2 separate regions of the Homo sapiens genome follow, and region 2 is linked to region 1. The links are contacts of gene promoters, found by promoter capture Hi-C in blood cells and fetal thymus (Javierre and others, 2016). All regions are on one chromosome and are shown on one strand. Each heading gives the region's core, a stretch centred on a gene start or on the middle of the fragment in contact. The rest is flanking DNA. Distances are from core to core; before and after follow the strand shown.

The links. The method cuts DNA at HindIII sites, captures the fragments that hold promoters and counts their contacts. A CHiCAGO score of 5 or more calls a contact.
Region 2: a fragment that was not itself captured here is called in contact with the fragment with the promoter of NAA15 in region 1 in 1 of 17 cell types (naive CD4 T cells); the score reaches 5.5 in naive CD4 T cells.

The regions. Positions count from the first base shown.
Region 1 is chr4:139,298,272-139,302,853 of GRCh38, reverse strand. NAA15 (N-alpha-acetyltransferase 15, NatA auxiliary subunit) reads right to left here and starts at 1,349. Exons shown (of 20, transcript NM_057175.5): 1 at 1,023-1,349. The coding sequence starts at 1,076. NDUFC1 (NADH:ubiquinone oxidoreductase subunit C1) reads left to right here and starts at 377. Exons shown (of 6, transcript NM_001184989.2): 1 at 377-438. RefSeq lists enhancers at 1,299-1,358, 1,839-1,958. The HindIII fragment of the contact is 1,328 bases long and covers 457-1,784 here.
Region 2 is chr4:127,960,630-127,965,776 of GRCh38, reverse strand. MFSD8 (major facilitator superfamily domain containing 8) reads left to right here and starts at 604. Exons shown (of 12, transcript NM_001371596.2): 1 at 604-705. The coding sequence starts at 644. ABHD18 (abhydrolase domain containing 18) reads right to left here and starts at 371. Exons shown (of 13, transcript NM_001358451.3): 1 at 171-371. RefSeq lists silencers at 1-117, 1,238-1,287, 1,298-1,427, 1,538-1,647 and enhancers at 172-787, 378-797. The HindIII fragment of the contact is 1,861 bases long and covers 2,026-3,886 here.

The sequences.
Region 1 (4,582 bases), core at 100-2,599:
ACAATGTGTTAATTATAGCTCCAAGGCTACAGGACATATTTTACAATGTAAACAGTCCCTGCAAACATCAATGCATTTATGGTTTAAAAAAATACAAACTGCACACATTTGAACCGTAGGGAATAAGTCTGAGCTAGCGTCAACAAAATCCATCTCAAAAGTTCTTATATTCTCATTTCTCTGGTAAGTTTTTGCATGTGTTAATATACTTCAGTGTATAAGAAAAGTCTAGGTCTGCAACGTTTCAACTAAAGACTCAACTTTTTACTTCCTACCGAACCGCCCCCTCGCAATGGGCCCCACCTCCCGAGAAGAGTGACGGGGTGGGGCTGTTTCCCGCTCGGAAACTAAGAAATAAATGCCTCATCCCTACTCCAGAAACGAGAACAACGGAGGCAGAGGAGCTGAAGACTCCAGTATGCAACTGACTACAAGGAGGTAGTCGTTTGAAAAGCTTTCTTTCCTTCTCTGAACTCCTTCTTTCCCTCCTCTCAGGTCATTGGGTGACCCCGGGCCGGGCGGAGACAGGTGAATCCCAAGAGAGGAGGAAGAGGGAGGGACAGATGATGGAGGGAGAACCGCGTTTAGGCAATGAATGAGCCTGCTGCATCCGCACCACCTGTTCCTTCCAAGGGTGCCACCCCGACCTGCCAGCAGGGTTCCCACACCAACCGGGCCGCGACTCCTGCCGGTGTCGCCCACTTGCCCGCCAAAGGCCGGGCCTCTTCTCCCCCAGATCGGGGAGAATGAGAACCGGCAGTCTAGAAGCCGGGAGGTCGGGGCCTAGTCCGGAACCAGGGCCTCAAGCGTGGGGATGGAATGAAGAAGCCTGTGGTCCCTGGCGCGCGGGCCATAGTAGGAACCACAGAGAGGGAGCAAAGCAATGCATTCGGCCTGACGAGAGCTATGAAGGCGGGGTCCCGGGCGGGAGTGGCTCAGTGCCCGCCGGGCCGAGGTTAGGGGTGACAGGCCCGGTTACCGGCTAAATCCTCCCCACCGCTTGCCCGGAGCCTCACACTTACCAAGATCCGCTTGAAGAGCGCATTCTCCTTGGGCGGGAGGCTCACGGCCGGCATCGTTCCGGCTGCTCCCGCTGCTCCCGCCACCACCCGGCTCGGTCAGTCAGTTTGTCCGACCGCCGCCGCTGCCGTTCCGTAGCTGCTTCAGCCTTGAATATCTCGATCCGCCGCCACCACCAGGCCTCGGGTGTCGCCGCGTTGCCCTACCCGGACACCTCCTTTTTCCTCGTTGTCTTTTTTCCTTTCTCACTTAACGCTGCCGCCGCCTCCCCCACTACGGGTCTCCGTCGGCGGTTCACGTGGTAACTGAACAGACCGACAGAGGCAGCCAAAATGGCGGACGCGGAGGGTTTTCCCACCCGGGTCACGCTTCCTAACACGCAGGCGCGGTGACCTCCTTTCCCCACCTCCTCTGGGTTTCGGAGCTTGCCGGGAAACCTGGAGGCTGGCCTGCCTGTGGAGGCCGGGAGGGTCGGGGCAGGCCCCGCCCATCATTTCAGTGCGTGGTACCCTCGAAGCGCCCGCGGAGCTACGGGAGGCTAGGCAAGTACGGTTCAGACCGCCTCCTCATCAAAAACAGCCTCTCTGGCGCCTTCCTGCTAGATCGACCTTTCATTCCTTGGAAAGAGTCTCGCACACTGTGTGATCATCGTTTGAGCCCAAAGTGCTAAAATACAGGTGTAGGTGTTTGAGAAGCGCTGTAGTTGATTATGGACGAAATGCCTAATTTAAGGAGCAGAGGCGGAGTGGAAAATGAAAAAAGCTTCACCGCAGTGGAGACTTGTTAACAGCCCTGGGGAGAAAGGGGCTTAACAGAGTCTGGAAATCGTGAAAGAGCTTGACCGATGAAATGGGCCTGGCTGTCGTATCGGTAATTTGGTGAATGTTGCTTAAGATCAGCCTGGAAAGGTAGTTAGTCAGATCCGAAGTGACATATTTGCACTGCCAAAGGAGGCTCTGGAGGTTAAAGTATGTGTTTTAATTTCGTTGTTGAGGCCATATAATGCAGAGTTGACGGACCGACCTTATGAGTCACCTTGGAGCGGAGTAGTGGAGACTTAAAGACAGACTACCCTGGAGCTGGCTTCAAACTAGTTCTTAATATTGTGACTCGAACTCCCCATCCCCAGAAATTCTCAGATCTTAGAAGCCAAAGACTGGCAAGGATACTAGAGGGAACTACTCGAGTAGGCGAGGTCAGACTACATACCGAATAGGAGTCCTTCCAAAAATGTAAGTCATTTCATTAACAGCTGACCGTAAAACTTTTTCAAAGTGGCATTCCATTGATCTAAAAATTTTCAAGTTATATGAGCCACTTTTAACCTTTGGTTTTTGATTACCTCTTTCCAAATCCTGATTTCACTCTGTAGCATTCTTTGCATCATGAATTATTAAACAATATGTGCGTGTTTTTTACTGTTTTAAATTTATTTGCAAAGATATTTTAATTTTCAAACTTCTCTTAACTGTCCCTGAAAGGTGTGAGTTGAGATACATGTTTCCCAATATAAACTTGGGTTTTGTAGCTGCTATATTGATTGTCCTCGCCCTTCACCGGGGTCATAAATAAGGTTTTTAACAGTCAAATCCTGGAGTTTCCTTAAATTCTGTGATCTCTCTTCAAAAGTTTGAGAAAAATCATATATACAGGAAACTATGTTTCAGTTTGAAATATGGCCAGTATTTTAACCTTAACTTTATAAAACTAAGAACAAGCTTATAATTCATTTTTAAGCTGTTACTTAGTAATAACCTGCAAAATTCACTGCCCCAAGAGATCTTTCAACTGTCTGAACTATTGAAAGACAGAAAAAATAGTCTAAATGCAGTTGATAGTTTTAGCTTGGATTTCCAAATCTCTGGCTTCATATCCAAATTTCTGGCTTCATATCCAAAAATCCCTACAGCAATACTATTTGCTATAGTTCTCTAAATTTCTCCTGTAAAGAATATTCTATTTTCCTTCAGAGGAAGAAAATTTCTGGTCTTTGAAACAATCAGTAGCTTCCACCAGAACCTGAGTACCTGATTAGATGAGCCAGAAATAGAGTTTGGCAAATGTTACATTCTTTTTGGGTGATGACAAAGAAATGGCAATTTTAAAGGCTCGGCAAATACTAGTCTGATTCAACATTTAACTGATTCATTTGCTAGTTAAAATGCACCTACAGATAACAGTCTGACCACACAGTAGCCTGAATTGAATAAAAAAATATATATTTACTCTGATCACCACAATTTCACAAATAGAGATCCCATTTGAGTTATACTGTAAGTAACAGCCATGCTTTCAGAAAGTTAACATATCCAAGGCTATATGCTGCCGCTGCTGCTGCTGATGATAGTTAATTCATCTTACCCCATGTGCTTGCATGTCACTATGTTCCAAATGCTAACTCTAAAAAATATTAACCAAAAAGAAAGAAATAAAATCATTTACCTTGCAAACTTTAATTCTACAAAAGGGATATGTTGAGTGAAATTTCTCCATATATGTAAGATGTTCTCTATTGAGACTGTTACATCTTATTAAGTACTTGGATCTTATTTAAAAAAAAAAAAAAGGCTGGGCTTGGTGGCTCACACCTGTAATCCCAGCACTTTGGGAGGCTGAGGCGGGCGGATCACAAGGTCAGGAGTTCAAGACCAGCCTGACCAACATGGTGAAACCCCGTCTCTACTAAAAATACAAAAATTAGCCGGGTGTGGTGGTGCGTGCCTGTAACCCCAGCTATCCAGGAGGCTGAGGCAAGACAATCGCTTGAACCTGGGAGGTGGAGGTTGCAGTGAGCCAAGATCGCACCACTGCACTCCAGCCTGGACAACAGAGTGAGACTACATCTCAAAAAAAAAAACATAGGCCAGGCATAATGCCTCATACCTATAATCCCGACACTGGGAGGCTGAGGCAGGAAGATCGCTTGAGCCCAGAAGTTTGAGACCAACCTGGGCAACATAGTGAGACCCTGTCTCTACAAAAAAATTTTAAAATTTGCCAGGTGTGGTGCTGTGAGCCTGTAGTCCCAGCTACTTTGTGGGCTTGGGTGGGAAGATTCCTTCGGCCCCAGAGGTCGAGACTGCAGTGAGCTGTGATGACACCTCTGCTCTCCGGCCTGGGCAACAGAGCTGAGACCTTGTTCCAAAAAAAAAAAAAGAATATAAAAGAAATTCATGTATTTGTCACCTAGATTTAACAAATGTTAACAATTTGCTATTGCTTCTGGGTTTTTTTTGTGTGTGTGTATAGACAGGATTTCTCAATGTTGCCCAGGCTACTCTTGAACTCCTGGGCTTAAGCAATCCACCCACCGCAGCCTCCCAAAGTGCTGGGATTATAGATGTGAGCCCCAACGCCCGGCCTGCTGCTGAATCTTTTTTTTTTTTTTTTTTTTTGAGACAGAGTTTCGCTCTTGTCGCCCAGGCTAGAGTGCAATGGTGCGATCTCAGCTCACCGCAACTCTGCCTCCTGGGTTCAAGCGATTTTCCTGCCTCAGCCTCCCGAGTAGCTGGAATTACAGGCATGCACCACCATGCCCGGCTAATTTTGTATTTTTAGTAGA
Region 2 (5,147 bases), core at 1,707-4,206, about 11 Mb after region 1:
CACGGACTCCAGCCTTGTCTCTCACCCCCAGCCTCACCCCGCGTCCCTGACCCGCGAGTCTCCCGCCCAGCTCCGCGTCCCCGGTCCCTGCCTCCAGGCGCGTACACGGCGCGCTAAGAGGCGCGGGGAGCTCTTAGCGCACCTACTACTTAACCGGACCGGCTACTTACTGGCCGCCAGGTGGAAGCCTGCGATCGAGCTGGCCGGGCCTCCCAGCACCGCCGCTCTCCAGGCTCCCTTTCCAGGACTCAACTTTGGTCCCAGCCCCAATCGCAGCTCCGGTAACCTTTCCAGGAACCGAAATGCTAGATACAGCGGAAGGAGAAACGGAGGGAGGAAGACAAACCCGGAGCAGGGCGGCGCGGCAGTTTGGACACGCCCCGAGCTCTCCTGGGCTCTCAGTCCCCGTCAGGATGGGAGGCGCGTGCCGAGGGAGGAGGCTGAGGACACAGCCTCCTTTCGCCCTGCGCTGCCCGGCCTTCCGCGTGACCCCGCCTATGACCTCGGGGCGTTCCGCCTACGTCTGACCGTCAGGTGCGCACGCGCACTTACAGGCTTGTTTTGCCAGCTTCACGCCACCCGGGATGGGAGAAAGCAGGTGTCGCGAGAGTTGGGCGCAAGACGCCTTGTAGGGAGTGTAACTATGGCCGGCCTGCGGAACGAAAGTGAACAGGAGCCGCTCTTAGGCGACACACCTGGAAGCAGGTGAGCGGATCCTGGTGGAGGGACCCCTCAGTCTCCTGCGCTGTTGGGACTGGTTCCTTTCCGGGCGTCACCCGCACTGGGACAAACCCTCGCTGCCAGAGGGGTTCCAGCGCGGTGGGAGCCGGTGGCTGGGTTGTGTGAGCCGAGGAGATTCGCTCCCAACGTAGGAGAAAGGGCGTCTGGCCGCACCGTGCGGTGATGAGCCCGTGGGTTCGAGTGACGGGGCTGGAGAAACCCAGGCTGCTGCTTTGCCTGTTGCAGCACCCAAGCTGAGAGGTGACAGCGTGCTGGCAGTCCTCACAGCCCTTGCTCGCTCTCCAGGCCTCCTCTGCCTGGGCTCCCACTTTGGCGGCACTTGAGGAGCCCTTCAGCCCACCGCTGCACTGTGGGAGCCCCTTTCTGGGCTGGCCAAGGTGGGAGCCGGCTCCCTCAGCTTGCAGGGAGGTGTGGTGGGAGAGGCGTGAGCGGGAACCGGGGCTGCGCGCCGCGCTTGCGGGCCAGCTGGAGTTCCGAGTGGGCGTGGGCTTGGCGGGCCCCGCACTGGGAGCAGCAGGCCGGCCCTGCCGGCCCCGGGCAATGAGGGGCTTAGCACCCGGGCCAGCGGCTGCGGAGGGTGTGCTGGGTCCCCCAGCAGTGCCAGCCCACTGGCGCTGCGCTCGATTTCTCGCCGGGCCTTAGCTGCCTTCCCGCGGGGCAGGGCTCGGGACCTGCAGCCCGCCATGCCTGAGCCTCCCACCCACTCCGTGGGCTCCTGTGCGGCCCGAGCCTCCCCGATGAGCGCCGCTCCCTACTCCACGGTGCCTAGTCCCATCGACCACCCAAGGGCTGAGGAGTGCGGGTGCACGGCGCGGGACTGGCAGGCAGCTCCACCTGCAGCCCCGGTGCGGGATCCACTGGGCGAAGCCAGCTGGGCTCCTGAGTCTGGTGGAGACGTGGAGAACGTTTATGTCTAGCTCAGGGATTGTAACTACACCAATCGGCACTCTGTATCTAGCTCAAGGTTTGTAAACACACCAATCAGCACCCTGTGTCTAGCTCAGGGTTTGTGAATGCACCAGTCGACACTCTGTATCTAGCTACTCTGGTGGGGCCTTGGAGAACCTTTCTGTCAACACTCTGTATCTAGTTAATCTAGTGGGGACGTGGAGAACCTTTGTGTCTAGCTCAGGGATTGTAAACGCACCAATCAGCGCCCTGTCAAAACAGACTACTCGGCTCTACCAATCAGCAGGATGTGGGTGGGGCCAGATAAGAGAATAAAAGCAGGCTGCCCACCAGTAGTGGCAACCCGCTGAGGTCCCTTTCCACAGTGTGGAAGCTTTGTTTTTTCGCTCTTTGCGATAAATCTTGCTACTGCTCACTCTTTGGGACCATACGGCTTTTATGAGCCGTAACACTCACCGCGAAGGTCTGCAGTTTCACTCCTGAAGCCAGCGAGACCACGGGGAGGAACGAACAACTCCAGACGCGCCGCCTTAAGAGTTGTAACACTCACCACGAAGGTCTGCAGCTTCGCTCTTGAGCCAGCGAGACCACGAACCCACCAGAAGGAAGAAACTCTGAACACATCTGAGCATCAGAAGGAACAAACTCCAGACGTGCCACCTTAAGAGCTGTTAACACTCACCGCGAGGGTCCGCAGCTTCATTCTTGAAGTCAGTGAGACCAAGAACCCACCAATCCCGGACACAAAGCCACCACATTCTGTATCTTCTGCATTCCATATTTGGCCCTTTGTAGCTGATCACTTTCCAGATTTCACAGTTTCAAAATGATGGTTTTAATAGATACTTGAAGGTATCGGTCTTAGTAATGACCTGCTGCCTAATTGCCTGACAACCTCTTGATAGTTTAACAAATCTGTCCAAAATGAGCTCGCCTTTGTCCTATGCCAAATGTACAAAGAAAGACTAATTTTAAGGCATTAAAGGAATAACGTCAGTATTTTGATCCTTATAATTCTGGTTGTTCTGATCCTAGTTTATGGGCAGTGACTCGGGAATGTATACCTAATGTATTTTTACCTTTAGGAAAACGGAATTACTATTTTATTTGAAATATACATAATAATTACCTCAGGTAAATTAATAAATTCAGTTAAACTTCAGCTGTCTATGACCATAATAATTTTTACTCATTTGTTCCCCTTAAGCACCAACCTTTTGTGAGCACTCTAACTCAAAACCCTTTGGCAAATGTATTTCTCTGGTCCTCGATTTACTAAACAGAGTTTATGCAATGCAGTTTTATCTTTACTTGATTTTATCTTGAGATCATTAAAATGAGTTTAGATGCTGATATGAATTTTAGTAGAGTGATGTCCTGAGAGCCTATTGAGACATTTGGGACTGTTTGCTTCTATACCAATTTATTTTACACTGCTATACTTTTTTTTTGAGACGGGGTCTTGCTCTGTGGCCTAGTCTGGAGTGCAGTGGTGAGCCTGGAGTGCAGTTTTATCTTTACTTGATTTTATCTTGAGATCATTAAAATGAATATCGATGCTGATATGAATTTTAATAGAGTGATGTCCTCAGAGCCTATTGAGACATTTGGGACTGTTGCTTCTATACCAATTTATTCTACACTGCTATACTTTTTTTTGAGACGGGGTCTTGCTCTGTGGGCTAGTCTGGAGTGCAGTGGTGCGATTTTGGCTCACTGCCACCTCTGCCTCCCAGGTTCAAGCGATTCTCCTGCCTCAGCTTCTGGAGTAGCTGGGATTAACAGACGTGGGCCACCAGACACGGCTAATTTTTGTATTTTTGGTAAAGACAGGGTTTCACCAGGTGGCCAGGCTGATCTGGAACTCCTGACCTCAAGTGATCCACCCACCTCAGCCTCCCAAAGTGCTGGTGTAGAAGCAAACAGTCCCAAATGTCTCAATAGGCTCTGAGGCCCGTTGCTATACTTTTTAAGTACTTACGTCTGCTTTTTAGTTTTTCTGACAGACTGTTTTCCTCGCAGACTGTTCTGCATCATGTTTTTGAAATCTGGCAGCAACAGTTGTTTTATTGTTGTTGCTGTCACCATACTCTTTCCACCAGCTTTAATTTGGGGCTTCTTGTTTGTTATAGCTTTGATAACCCTGGATCTATGCTTAATGTAACTGTGTGTCATTACAACCTGGTAGTTCTGACTGAGAGCTAAATGTCTTTCCTACTAGTTAAGTGCATAAGCTTGAGTGCGTGGACTTCATGACATTTGGTTTTCTCAGAACTCAGAAATTCTTTTTTTTTTTTTTTTTTTTTGAGACGGAGTCTCGCTCTGTCACCCAGGCTGGAGTGCAGTGGCGCAATCTCGGCTCACTGCAAGCTCCGCCTCCCGGGTTCACGCCATTCTTCTGCCTCAGCCTCCCGAGTAGAGTAGCTGGGACTACAGGCGCCCGTCACCACGCCGGGCTAATTTTTTTTGTATTTTTAGTAGAGACGGGGTTTCACCGTGTTAGCCAGGATGGTCTCGATCTCCTGACCTCGTGATCCGCCCGCCTCGGCCTCCCAAAGTGCTGGGATTACAGGTGTGAGCCACCGTGCCCGGCCTCAGAATTCTTTTTGCTTCGTCCTGGTTTTTAGCTATTTTCCAGATAATTGCAGGATCCCTGAGTTATGTTTAAATGTGGTCTTCTGGTACATTCTGTCACCTTGTACAAAAGAGAATTTTTTTTCATACTCTTAGCTTTGATTTCATCAAAGTGATTGATGCTCATTAGGATCTGTCCAGATTTAGGTGTTCCTGCCAATAATCAATACCTCTGATTGAGGTTCTAGATTTAGCATTTTAAAAACAAAAAGGGAGTATTTTGAAAATAATAAGTATATGTCTTTAAAAACAAGTATATTCCCTAGTAAAGTGAACCTATGTACAACTAGTTGGCAGGACCTGTTCACTTTGAATATATTGCACAAACATGTCTAGGTCACCACCAACTTTTCCTCACTAACAAGGTTGATTATTATTTGCTGGTCTGGTGGAGCTGGCCTCTTGAATCCTCAGTGCTCCCCACTGACCCCCTCTATGGAGCTTTATTTAAGACAACAGGGGTTGGAAAACATTTCCTGTAAAGTCCCAGATTGTAAATATTTTAGGCTTGTTTAGGGCAAGGGGAAAAATCAAGGATATTATATAGGTGTTTAGATAACCAGAAAACAAATTCCACAAAATTTTTTAGTAATGACATTTAAAATATAATAATAAGTATAATATAGGTTTGTTAATGAAAGGGATAGAATTTGGTGGGGGAGGGGATGACATTTTCCTTAATTGCACTTCAGAGTTGGTGTTTTCTGTCATCAAACTGATAAATATTCATCTGTAAAAACCGTTTGTAGCTCACGTTACTGATCCAAGTTACAAATGATTTCAAAATTTTTTTGCAACCTTAGCCTAGTCTCTGTAAAATTTGTATTATTAGGGCATCTGTCCTTATAGGGCATATCTTTATA